2 separate regions of the Homo sapiens genome follow, and region 2 is linked to region 1. The links are contacts of gene promoters, found by promoter capture Hi-C in blood cells and fetal thymus (Javierre and others, 2016). All regions are on one chromosome and are shown on one strand. The core of a region is centred on a gene start or on the middle of the fragment in contact, and the rest is flanking DNA. Distances in the headings are between cores, read along the strand shown. Region 1 holds the start of CEP70 (centrosomal protein 70). Region 2 has its middle 3.8 kb from the start of NMNAT3.

The links. Contacts are between HindIII fragments. The CHiCAGO score rates a contact against its expected background, and 5 or more counts as called.
Region 2: a contact is called between a fragment that was not itself captured here and the fragment with the promoter of CEP70 in region 1, in 1 of 17 cell types (naive CD4 T cells). The highest score is 6.2, in naive CD4 T cells.

What each region holds. Positions count from the first base shown.
Region 1 is chr3:138,591,926-138,598,567 of GRCh38, reverse strand. It overlaps CEP70 (centrosomal protein 70), which reads left to right and starts at 4,308. Exons shown (of 18, transcript NM_024491.4): 1 at 4,308-4,370; 2 at 6,612-6,642. RefSeq lists an enhancer at 4,044-4,103. The HindIII fragment of the contact is 6,508 bases long and covers 1-4,698 here.
Region 2 is chr3:139,678,404-139,685,045 of GRCh38, reverse strand. No RefSeq gene overlaps it. Among named protein-coding and RNA genes, the nearest start is that of NMNAT3, 3.8 kb to the right of the region's middle. The HindIII fragment of the contact is 776 bases long and covers 4,212-4,987 here.

The DNA.
Region 1 (6,642 bases), core at 3,059-5,558:
TTGAGATGACAGTAGCCCAGACCAAAAGGTTGACTGAAACCCCATGAAAGATCTTGTCCAGACCATCCAGCTAAGCCCTACTGTATTCCTGACCCACAGAAACATTGTGATGATAAATGTTTATTTTAAGCTGCTATGTTTTAGGGTAATTTTTATGTACCAATAGATAACTAATACACAGACATTAGCAATAACTAATACACAGTAAATAATTGCAAATTGTAATAAATGCATATACCAATCTGATGGTAAAGCAGATGTCTGTCACAAGAAGTGGTATGGTCAAGTGGTTAATGACATAGGCTTTGGAGCCTGAATGCCTAGGTTCAGATCCTGGCTTTGCCATATACTAGTGTGTGACCGTGGCAAATCATTTCAAAATTTTTTTGGCTTCTATTTCCTAACTTGCTCATTTGTAAAACAGATAATAACAGTACTTATATTAAGGTTGTTGCGAAGATTCAACAAGTTAGAAAATGAAAGTGCTTAGCTCGGAGCCTAGCACATTTTAAGTGCCCAATTAACATAACTATTGTTATTCTGTATGGATTATTGAGCATTTGTCATTAATATATTTGCCTCAGCTGTTTGCATATTGTCCTTCACATTGGAAAATGACTACTGAAGGTGAATGCTCTGAATAAATTTGACTCAAATTTAACAATGTAGTTCTGAAAGAAGAGAAAGACCCTCTCATATTATTTTATATTGTTTTATACTCAGTACCTGTTTTAAGAAAAAACAACAAGGAAGTAAAACCAAAGACAGGCAGCCCGGCGCCTGGCCCGAAACCAGGCCTGGGCCTGCCTGGCCTAAACCCAGTAGTTAAAAATCAACTCATAACTTAGAAACCGATGTTATTCATAGATTCCAGACATTGTATAGAAGAACATTGTGAAACTCCCTGCCCTGTTCTGTTTCTCTCTGACCACCAGTACATGCAGTCCCTGTCACATACCCCCTGCTTGCTCAAATCAATCACAACCCTTTCATGTGAAATCTTTAGTGTTGTGAGCCCTTAAAAGGGACAGACATTGTGCACTCAGGGAGCTCGGATTTTAAGGCAGTAGCTTGCTGATGCTCCCAGCTGAATAAAGCCCTTCCTTATACAACTCAGCGTCTGAGAGGTTTTGTCTGTGGTTAGTCCTGCTACAGTTCAAAGCTGTGTTTAGCACCTACTGTGCACCAAGGAAATATGCTAGCTGCAGGATGAAGTTTAGTAAGACATGGTTCATGTTCCCAGGGGTTCAAATTCTTGTGGAAAAGGCAGAAACAAATGTATTCATGTAATAAAGGAATCTAAGTCTAAAAAACTTATGAGTTGAAGAATCTTTGAGAATTCATCATGATTACCATTACATATGATATACTCATGTTTTTCTAGGGAGAAATATGACAGTTCTATACCCAGAAGAAAATTTGAGAATCAGTTTAGAAGTTGAGAAATTAGGCCGGGTGCAGTGGCTCACGCCTGTAATCCCAGCACTTTGGGAGGCCGAAGCAGGTGGATCACAAGGTCAAGAGATTGATACCATCCTGGCTAACACAGTGAAACCCCTAAAAATACCAAAAAAAAAAAAAAATTAGCCAGGCGTGGTGGCAGGCGCCTGTAGTCACAGCTACTCGGGAGGCTGAGGCAGGAGAATGGCGTGAACTGGGGGGTGGAGCTTGCAGTGAGCCACGATCACGCCACTGCACTATAGCCTGGGCAAGAGCGAGACTCCCGTCTCAAAAAAAAAAAAAAGAAGTTGAGAAATAAAAGATGTGTTTTAACTGCTAATGAAAGTTATAATTTATGCTAGGAAGCCAAAGTACAGAGGAAAGCAGAAAGCCGAAATGAAGACATGCTTGGCTTTCAACTTAAGTGTCACTTCATCAGAGAGGCTTCCTCCATAGCCCCTCTTCTCTTCTTTGATATCACTTATTATATTAATAATATATACTTAATTGCATTTGTTTCATATTTTCTCCGCAGTTAGACTATAAGATCCACGAAGGCAGGAATCACAACTGGGCTTACTTACTATTGTAAACTCCCCCACTTATAAATCTGACTCAGCATCTAGTTCAATCCCTGGTACAAAACAGGTGCTTAACAAAAAAATTTTTTTTTTTTTGAGACGGAGTTTTGCTCTTGTTGCCCAGGCTAGAGTGCAATGGTGAGATCTCGGCTCACCGCAACCTCCGCCTCCCGGGTTCAAGCGATTCTCCTGCCTCAGCCTCCTAAGTAGCTGGGATTACAGGCATGTGCCACCACACCCGGCCAATTTTGTATTTTTAGTAGAGATGGGGTTTCCCCATGTTGGCTAGGCTGTTGTCGAACTCCTGACCTCAGGTGATCCACCTACCTTGGCCTCCCAAAGTGCTGGGATTACAGGCGTGAGCCACTGTGCCCGGCCAACACATTTTTATAAATGAATGAATGTTAAATGAATGTTTAGAATTATTAGAATTCTATTGGGTAGATGAGGCCCATAGAAAACTCTTGAGACCAATGTAGCAGGATTCTCAGTGAAAGACTAAGTTTGTGTGCAGGGATGTTTTCCTTCTCTAGCAAAGAGAGGTGCTGGAAAGGCTTTCATGGTCCATAAGAAGGGAATTGTTTTGGAGGGCAGTGCTATAGCAACTCTTCCCCTCCATTCACCACATAAAAAATTCAGTTAGAAAATAGAGAGGAATCAGCCTTCTTGTGCTTTGAAGACTGTGAAAGATACTGGTGATCATCCATCTAGCATCCATTTTCCTCTTCTCCTTTACAGGTCTCCAGTTTTATTCAAATAGCCATGTCTCCACCTTGCAACTCATGTGACTCAAAGAGCACTGACACCATTGCCAATTCCAATTGTCATAGCTCCTTTTCACTTCTGGAACCCAGGCTTAAGCTGTCTGTACATTTCCCAGGCAGTTACTGGTAAAGAGGAAGAGTGTGTGCCTGTGTGAACTTATTGGCTCAAAAAACCAGAAGGAAAGGTTTTAGATGAAAAAGAAAGTATGTGGTCCTGATTTCTCCAAGTAGACATCTGGAAAATCACGTTAGTATGAATTTGAAGTCTACCCTTTTTTTTTTTTACAACAAAGCAGAGACTAATAGCAACTGGGTCCTTGTTAACTTGCTTAGCCACTGAATTAATCAAAGTCTCCCTTGCCTCTGAGCTTTCTGTTATGCGAGATAAGCAACTTCTTTATTTTTTAGGAAGACAGTTTAACTCAGATTCTATATCACGTGCATCCAAAATAATAATAACTGACTCAAAGATGTTTGGCCTCTACAATTAGGGCAGCCATTCTCAGAAGAGTATGCAAGGGCACCCTATTATCTTGGAAAAGGGAAGCACTGAGACTATTTGCATTTTGAGAACTGAAAATGCAATCTGCTAACCGTCGTTAGAGTGAATATCCAGGTATGGAAAGCACAGTGGGTAGGCGTAGGTTGGGGTAGGGACATGTTTGCATGGGGCAAACACAGAGATCAAACCTAAGTGTAGTCCCAGCTGCCTGGAAGAAGGCTAAGAAGGGTCTGAAAGTATTGAGCTCCAAGAGCCCTTGGATCTCCTGATGAGAGACCCTTGGCTGATGCCCTAGATGGGACATCCCTGTTGGCTACTGTGGGACCTGCATCATTTGACTGCAACACAGTCTGTTGCAACATTTGACTGTAACACAGACCTACATCATTTGACTGATTTGAAAAGACAAGTTGTCAACAGCGACACCATGTGGCTATAAGATACAATGACAATGGTGGACAGCTACAGCCTCAGGTAGGGCCTGACGCTTCGTCGAGATGTGGAAAATGCTGAATGGGAAGATGAACTGTCGTCAACAAATATTTATTGGGGTCCTCCAAATGTCAGCTGCTACAGTGGTCATTCAGGTCTGGAACATCGAGAACATGCTGACCCGTACCCCAGCAAGGGCTCGTAGTCGCGGCGGGGTAGGGGGCGAGAGAGAGGGCAGTCTCTGGTGGCCAGGTAACCCAGGCTTCACTTTCACCCACGGCCACAAGTATTTCTGACGTCTTCCGGGCAAATAAGCCTCCATGTAAGTGACAGGGCACCCAAGGAGTGCGTTGGAAGCGCCAGCGTGCCCGAGACCAGCACATCGCACCGACGCCTTCGTTTGCGGTAAGCCCCGCCCCCCGTAGTGAGCCAACCGGAGGGAGCGGGGCGGACCCAGCTTCCCGGAGAGGCTGGAGAGAATCGTTTGGGGGCATTCGCAGGCCAAAGAGGGGCTGGCCCTCGACGCGCTCGGGCTCGATTGGCCGCCCTCCCCCGGCGGTGGTAACGGTCGCGGAGGCGGGGCCTGACGTAGCTGATCCCAGCCTAACCTGGCCCGGCTGGCTGCTGGTGGGAGGCCGGCGACTGAGTAAGGTGAGTGGCTCTCGGGGCTCTCAGAGGCGTCGGCGTGAGCCCCTTCCCGGAGTACCCCGGACTTGACCTCACCTGGGCCTAAAAGTGGTCAGACTGACCCTTGTCGGGGAGGAGCCATCTGGGACAGGGTCGCGCCAATTAAAAATCCCTGCGTAAGGGTTTGGGGATCGGACAAAACTGCCTCCAGTCCCAGCTCCCCAGGCTTTGTGTTCTTTGGCTTCTCCTTTAATGTCTCAGCGCCTCCGATTCTTTATTTGTATACTAAAGCTGGTAATTCTTGCCTTACAAGGTGGTTGTGAGGGTTAAATGAGGCAGTAAGAGTAAAGCTTAGAATCACGTCGGGCACAGACTCGATTTAAGCTGTAGGTAATTACTCCATCCCCCAAAATCGACCCGGGCTGAAGCGCTAGTTTTGTGTCAAACAACCGCGAAGGTTGTTTGGGGAGTGAGGACTCGGAGCAGAAGGGGGCGGTTAGGCGAATAGCACAGGTGAGTATCTCTTTCTCCAGTTTATTAACCTCATTCCGGATTCAGGAGACCTCTGACTTTATACAGGGCCTAATAGGAGTTTTTCAAGGTGAAAAATGCCAGAAGGCTAAGTCACCTGTAACAGAGAGACCAATCAGAGTTTCCTTTTTTACTGCCACTTTGTTTTTCAATCAATGATATTAAACAGGCAGGGCGCAGTGGCTTACGCCTGTAATCTCAGCACTTTGGGAGGCCGAGGTGGGCGGATCCCCTGAGGTCAGGAGTTCGAGACCACCCTGGCCAACATGATGAAACCACGTCTCTACTAAAAATACAAAAATTAGCTGGGCATGGTGGTGTGCGCCTGTAATCCCAGCTACTCGGGCGGGTGAGGCAGCAGAATCGCTTGAACTCGGGAGGCGGAGGTTGCTGTGAGCCGAGATCGCGCCACTGCACTCCAGCCTGGGTGACGGAGCGAGACTCTGTCTCAAAAATATATGTATAATATATTAAACTCTGTGCAGGCATTACCCATATTGGTTTCAAGCCTCTGCATGAGTTTTGTACTTTAAATATTGCCAAGTAGACTCTGGCCTCCCCTGCCCCGCCTTTTGGGGAAGAGGTGGCTGACTTGGAGTTTTCCCTACAGCTTTTGCTTCAAAGCAAGGTTCTGCCCCTTCATGTCACCTCTCCTGAGACAGAATGATTTGGTTGAGATGACATTCCATTTTAACTCTTTCCTATTTGGGGTAAGTTCAGCTCTTTCTTAGGAACATTAAACAGCAAGTTGCAATATTTTTAGAATAGAGCTTTTGCATTTAATAAGGAATAGAGACTTCGAAAGGGTTACATGTTCATTTATTGCAGTAATTTGAAGTATATACTTTTGAAGATGCTTACAGATTTTGGTGTGATTCAGTTGAGAAGGAACAGTTATTGGCCATGGTTTATTGTCAGCTCCCCTCCCCCACCCCAAATGGTGAAAAAAATAATTAAATTTTAAGATATGGAGCATGTTACAAGGGGCTTCAGACCTATAAAGGGCAATTTGGCTGAAAGACTCGGGAAACCTAGAAAGTGCCAGAAGATGCAATTATGTTTTTGCTTTTCTATGCTTGGCTTACTATGCCATGTACAAATCAACTCCTACCCTCCGACTCCTACCCCCCGACTCCTACCCCCAACAATCTTATTTTAAGTGTGTTATGACAGTAATTAAAGCTGTAGCTTCTGTTTTGGCCCTAGAAAGCATTTGGTCTCTTCCTGTGACTTTAAAGTTCCAGACCTTTGTCCTGTCACAGCCTGTAGTGGGGAAAAGGCTGCTGCAAACTATTGGCCCGTTTATTTCACAGAATGGTCCTCTGAAAAGGAGGGCTTGGTCACAGGTGCAAATGAGGAGTAGTTTTGTTCCTGTGTTTGCTTTTGTGATCAGTGGTAGTTTGTCTGAGGATGCTTCATTTTAGTATCCTTGCAAATGAGAATATCCTACCTGTGGAGCCAGAAGTCAGAATTGATGATAGATGATGATAGATTTGGATACCCAGCTAAATGTCTTAACAAGGTAGGGAGAGGAAAGATAAGAAGGAGAGAGAAGAGAAGGGAAGAGGCATATGATGGTGAGCTGGGAAGGCCATTAGCAGTTATTTCAGTTGTGCCTGCTTTATCTGTGATTACCAGTACCTTGGATGCCTGCTCTGGGAGTAACACAAGACCATTCTTACTAGGAGGTTGAACATTTCAAGATTTTGTTCTTTTTATCTTTTTGAAACCTAGATGAAGATCCAGTTTCAGACATGAGACTCGT
Region 2 (6,642 bases), core at 3,350-5,849, 1.1 Mb before region 1:
TGTTAGAGATGTCATTAGATAAAGGGAAGAGTCTTTGAGGATAGGGGAGACTTGGCCCTCGTATAAGCTAAGAGAAGAGAGCACAGAAGAGGAGAACGTAAAGATACAGAAGAGAATGGCAATAACAGACAAATCACAGAGGCCAGAGGAAGCGATTAGGGCCTAGGCAAGGACCTCCTTTGCACTCTGTCTTTGATGTAGTGTGCTCCTTGCAGTTCAGAATATATTATACCTCACACTTTCTTGCTCTCTTGTTGCTTGAGTATGATTTTAATCTCTATGATGATTAATTTTATGTGTCAACTTGACTGGGCTAAGGGATGCCCAGATAGCTGGTAAAACATTATTTCTGGGTGCATATGTGAGGGTGTTTCTGGAAAAGACTATCATTTGAATCAGTAGACTGAGTAAAGAAATCACCCTCGTGAATGTGGGTGAGTATCCTCTAATCTACTGAGGGCTGGAACAGACCAAAAATCCAGAGGAAGGGCAAATTATCTCTCTTCTTGAGCTGGGACATCCATCTTCTCCTGCCCTCAGACATCAGAGTTTCTGATTCTTGGACCTTTAGAAACTTACACTAGCATCTCTCCTGCCTGCCCCAGTTTTCAGGCCTTCAGCTTCAAACCTGAAGTTACACCATCAGCTGCCCTGGTTTTCAGGTCTTTGGACTCAGACTGAATTACACCATGGGCTTTCCTGGCTCTCCAGCTTGCAGATGGCAGATGTGGGATTTCTTAGCCTCCATAATTATGTGAGCTAATTCCCTTAATAAATGTCCTCGTCTATCTATCTATCTATCTATCATCTATCTATCTATCCATCCTATTGGTTCTGTTTCCCTGAAGAACCCAGACTAATATAACCTCAATTCAACCATAAGCTCCTTGAAGGCAGGAACCATGTCTTTGTAAGCAGAACAGGAATGGTGCTGCATAGGAGATTGAGAGACCAGAATCCTAGGACTAATTTGTATTATCAGACTGTGCTAGACTGAAAGTTACTGATAACTACAGTGGTGTGGCCAGATAGGTTTTTTAATTTTCTTATAAAATAAGAAGGCTGGAAGTAGGCAGTTCAGAGCTGGTACAGCAGCTCCACGGTGTATTTAACATGTCAGACTCCTATTCATTCATTCAGCCATCTTTAGTAGGTGGCTTTGGAGTTCACGCTTGGAGTTCACTTCTAAGATTCATAATGGCTCCTTGGCCTCTGGGCTTATACCCACATTCTAAGCCAAAAGGAAAAAGGAGGAGAGGGACAGAAAGCTTGCAAAGCAAAATCTTCCTACTAATCCCAGGTGGACTCCTGTTTGCTTCTTGTGGCCATCTCTAGCTGCACAGGAGTCTACCGCTCTAAACTGAATTGGGGCTTCATTGTACTCTAGCTTCTCTGCATCCCTGCCTTCCTCCTAACAGCATTCTTTGGGTTTCCGTTTGGGAAATTGCCCCTCTCCACTATGAGAGTCTTAGTAGGAGAGTAAATTCAGATGCTTTCCTTTCAACTTCTGCAGTTGAAGGAGTTTGCCAACACCTTTCCCAGGACAAATAGGAGAGTGTATACTAATGTTGGCCAATCTGAGGGCCTCTCCCAAGACTTTGGCTAGTGTGCAAGTGAAACAAGGGCATAGAAAGTGTCTAGAGTTTAATCATCTATCTCTGCAGCAGCTTCCTGACCAGACCATTTCTACTAAGAGATTATTCCCAGGGTTTTCACTTTCTAGCTTTTCAGAGCTACTTTCTCCCTATCCGTTTCTAAGCCTGGATCTCCAAACTTTCTGTAAGTTCTGAAGGCCCAATCCTGCCAATAAACTCCCATCTACTGGGTCACAGAGACTGTTTCAATTGCTTCTAACAAAAAAGTCCTGACTAATACTCCAAACCCACCACTGGTCAGGCGTGATCTCGAGAAAATCCTCTAACCTCTCTGGGTACTCTCTACTGATCACAAAAGGATGGGTTATTCCTAAAGGCTTTTCCATTATGACTTTGACCACCTCCAGAAGGCCCTCTTTGTACCAAGTAGGCCCAAATGGACATCAAAGCCTGGATTAGGGTTTTAGCAATAGGGGTAAAATATAAAAGCTCCATTAGGAACGGCAGCTGACAGCACTGGGATGCTGCTACTGGAGCACTCCTTGGGCAATTAACCCAGGTAAGCACCAACCAAAACCCACTCCACTGCTTTTGGCACCAGAGTGCAATGTTTTCATTAGCAAACAGGCACTATTTAGTGTCTTCTTGCCATAATTATAAAGGTCCACTTATAATTCTGTGCTTTCAACTGTTCTTGATTATAAGACTTCTTAATTGTGCCACCATAAAACATGTTTTCAGGGGGAATCTGTTTTCCACTTTAAATTCTCTCCTGCAGCAATGTATTTGCCTTACAAAACTTCAGAATAAAGGGTAGAGGCTTCTGTAAATTCATAGTCTGTACCTTCAAGGAAAAATTACTTTGTTAGAATAGCAAAGTGGCCCCAGTTTGGCCTTATTTTCTAGCAAAAACTCATTGCTTAGCTGCATTTAATAATCCATGGAACATTTCTATTAACTTCAGTGTGTGAATTGTGTGACTGCAGAATGGGTAAAAAAAAAGTGAGAATCAGGAATACAAAATATGCAGAAAATGAAAATAAGTGAGATGTTAAATATTTGATCAAGGCCTTTATTTTCAGGTAACCAGTTGCCATCTTGGGGTCTCAAATGCCAACAGAAGCCACAGAATACTATTCTGAATTATTAAAGTGACTAGGAGAACCTTGTTTCTTTTTACTACTTTTAAATGAGTATGTAGCCTCTCAAGCTAACCTTTGCTTAAACATTTAACATAGACATTGGGTGAAATATAAAAAAGCAAAAGTTCTCAGTCTAATACTCAACCTGTAATTATAAATCAGATTACATAATACAGCTCAGCCATTTCATTTTATTTTTCTGTGTTCTAACAATTTTTTTCAGTTTGAGAGGAACCTAACCAAGATTAGTTGAAAGTCTGCATTCTAGAATATTTTTATCTGTATGTGTACTGAATATATTTTTCATTTGCTCAATTCAATGCATTCATTCATTCAACAGATATTTATTGAATATCAGGTGCTAGGCACTGTTGTGGGTGTGAGGACATATCAGGGAACAAAATGTATAAAGATTCAGCCACTCTTGGGCCCTACACTTCTGCGAGGGAGACAGATAATGAGCAAAATATCCTCCAATGATAGGTAGTAAGTACTACAAAAGGGGTTGTATGGGAGTATTTTTGTTTGTTAAGTGGAGCTGTCTACTAGAAAGCTAATGAATTGGGAAAGTTATCCTAAGAGTGGGCGGTGTGTTATTTAGGTCAATGAGGACAGCAGCACCATGGTTCTAGGTGCAAATAGGCCCAGTGTGTCCAAGGAACAGCAACAGAGTCAAGGAAACCAGAGATGAGAATGGCTGACAGCTGGAGCACTTGTCAGGGCAGATCCTTGAGGGCCTTGCACACCAGGGGGAGGACTTGAGATTTTACCCTAATTGTGGTGGAAGCCACTGGAAACTTTTGAGCAGAGGAGTGTTATAAACTGATTCACGTTTTAAAAGGATAATTTTAGCTCAATAGTAAGTATAGCCATGAAGCCAAATTGACAAAGTGAAGGTTTTCTAGTGAGGACCTGCTTTGATGCTTGTATAAGAAAGATCTGGCATGAGCACTATCTGTTCACTGTTTGTAAGAAAACACCTGGCCGGGCACGGTGGCTCATGCCTGTAATCCCAGCACTTTAGGAGGCCAAGGCGGGTGGATCACCTGAGGTCAGGACCAGCCTGGCCAACATGGTGAAACCTTGTCTCTTCTAAAAATACAAACATTAGCTGGGCGTGGTGGCGAGCGCTTGTAATCCCAGCTACTTGGGAAGCTGAGGCAGGAAAATCACTTGAACCTGGGAGGCGGAGGTTGCACGCCACTGCCCTCCAGCCTGGGCTACAAAAGTGAAATTTCATCTCAAAGAAAAGAAAAGAAAATGCCCATCTGCTGAAGTAGTTGCAGTGACTGAAAAGTTTGCCCTCTTTGGTCATTTGAAAAGTCCACCAGTCTCCCTTTTACATTTTACTTTTACCCACTCAAAGCTTGCTTTTCCTCAGCGACAGGTCAGAAGTCAAGGTTAGAATAGGTTCATCCAAATACAGAGGCTGCCCCAGTCTACGGCCTCATCACAATCCATCCACAAGCAAGCTTTCCAGAATGGCCTCAGGTCCATCCCAGGACTGTGACTCTCAGCCATCTGCACATTGCTTACTGCCCAAAGAGTTCCTCCTGAAACTTCATCAGCACACTGTTAAGTGATAGAAGGAAACTGCAGAATAGTGTTATACTGTAGCCAGATCTCATTTTAGTAATGACATTTTTATGCCTAGAAATAATGTTTTAAATGTTCAAAAATATGAGCTAAGTGGTCAGTTCCAGCTTTTTTCCCTGTAGAGACCTGTCTCCTGCAGCCTTGGGTGGGATGATTCCAAGGCATGCTCTTCACACAGTTTTCTAGGGTTTTCCCCTAGGATTAAGCCCTAAACATCTATTATAGTAGCTGGCTTAATCTTTTATTGAGCTCCCCTTTTCTTCCCTGTATTGCTTCTTCATTACTCTGCTGGTGTTCCATGTACCTCTCAAATAACTACTTGCATTAATTCTTACCTCAGGATCTGGTTCTGAGGCACTCAAGCTGAGACATCCTCTATGTAAAATCTTCCTCCTTCCTGAGGTGGCATTAGGTGGCCACCTTCCTTGAGCCATAATGGCAGATAGGATCCAGGAGAAATGAAACTTACCAATAAAGGAGAGATCTGAAAATATTATTCCCATTATACCCATAATCCAGTAGTCTTTTTGTGAGCTTAAGCAAATACAAGACTTGCATTTAGGTATTCCTCCTTCTAAAAAATTAGGAGGTAGTTGCCTCTCCAAAATGGATTTCTCAGCCATTGCGTCTTCACCGCTTAGGTTAGGTAAAGCTTGGCTATTATATGAGGTTCTTACCTTCCAGCACAAGGGGACGCTACTTTTTTAAAAAAATATTTTTATTTCCATAGGTTATTAGGGAACTGGTGGTATTTGGTTACATGAGTAAGTTCCTTAGAGGAGATTTGTAAGATTTTGGTATACCCATCACCCGAGCAGTATACACTGAACCCAATTTGTAGTCTTTTATCTCTCACTCCCTTCCCATTCTTCCCCTCTGAGTCCCCAAAGTCCACTGTGTCATTCTTATGTCTTTGCATCCTCATAGCATAGCTCCCACTTATGAGAATATACCATGTTTGGTTTTCCATTCCCGAGTTACTTCACTTAGAATAACACTCTCCAATCTCATCCAGTTGCTGTGAATGCCATTAATTCATTCCTTTTTTCTTGCCTAGGAAACCAGGCTTCCTCCTAGACCAAGCTTTAGTCTTCACTACCTCAGGCAGAGAAAGCTTCCCTTGCATGAGGAAGTCATTGCCCAGCCTCTTCTCTGCTCTCTGTGTGCAGCTTCTCCCTCCCTGGCCTAGGGCCCTGACCCAGAATGACTCTTCAGCCCACGATTTTAATCGAAGGCCTCTAATCAACCTGTGGTACTACATGCTACACAAGATTCTCAGAAATCCCTAAGCTTTCTCATGAGCCTCCCACCCTGCTGGGAAATAAGCTGACTTATCAATTAAAGAATATCCAAAGATGTTAAGCCACTTAATCCTCCCCAAAACTCAGTGCGGTAGGGGTTGTTACCTCCCATTATACGAAAGGAAAGTGAGGCTTGGGAAGTAAAGAGACTTGTCCAAGATCACCTTCTGGAGCCACATTTTACACCACAGGTAAGAGAAAAGGGATCCGAGAGGGCACGGACACTGTGTCTTCAGACTGAGTGGGGAAGTACCATTTACCTGGGTACTTATTGGGTGCAAGTTGCATGCCCCCGGTGCTAATACACAAGGGACAAATTTATGGGCCTCCTAAAACTGTGGACAGTGCACCCGTCCAGCCAACTTCATGGGTGCACCGTGAGGCTCTGGTGATGTGGACAGGCTTATAAAACACTCTCCATACTAAGATGAGGTTGTGTTCCTGTGTCTAGGAAACGCTGGAAATTAAGTGTACAGCAATCAAAAAACCTTGACATCATCCTTGATGTCTCTCTTTTTCGCACACTCCAATTCACTCCATTAGGAAACTGTATTGGCAGAATCTAGTGAATCTTGTCCTTCAAGGCCTCTCTCTGCAAGGCTCCCATGAGCCCTGGGGGCTTATGGAGAGTTCTGGGTGGGCAGAGGAAGCCAGACTGCGTTAGGGAAGCAAATTTGGGACCTAAATTTCCTAAGAAGGTTTTAGGGGATAGGGACCCCAATCTCTAAGACCCCAGGATTCTGTTAAGATTTATTTTCTCATTCCAAATAAATGTTCACTGGCAAGCCCTAATTCTGTCTTCTCTTTCTTAAGCAGCCCTCCCTTCCTTCTCCCCACACAACTGTGTATGCTTCAGGCCCCAGAAATCCTTCCCTGCTTTGAGGTCTGGCGTTTACCAGGGCAGGGCTTGAGAATAGAGGTGTAAATTTGTCAGAAGGAAACAGGGGCCGCGCAGTAAGAGAGTAGATCCTCATATAACATGGCAGAAAGTCAATGGATAAATCAAGA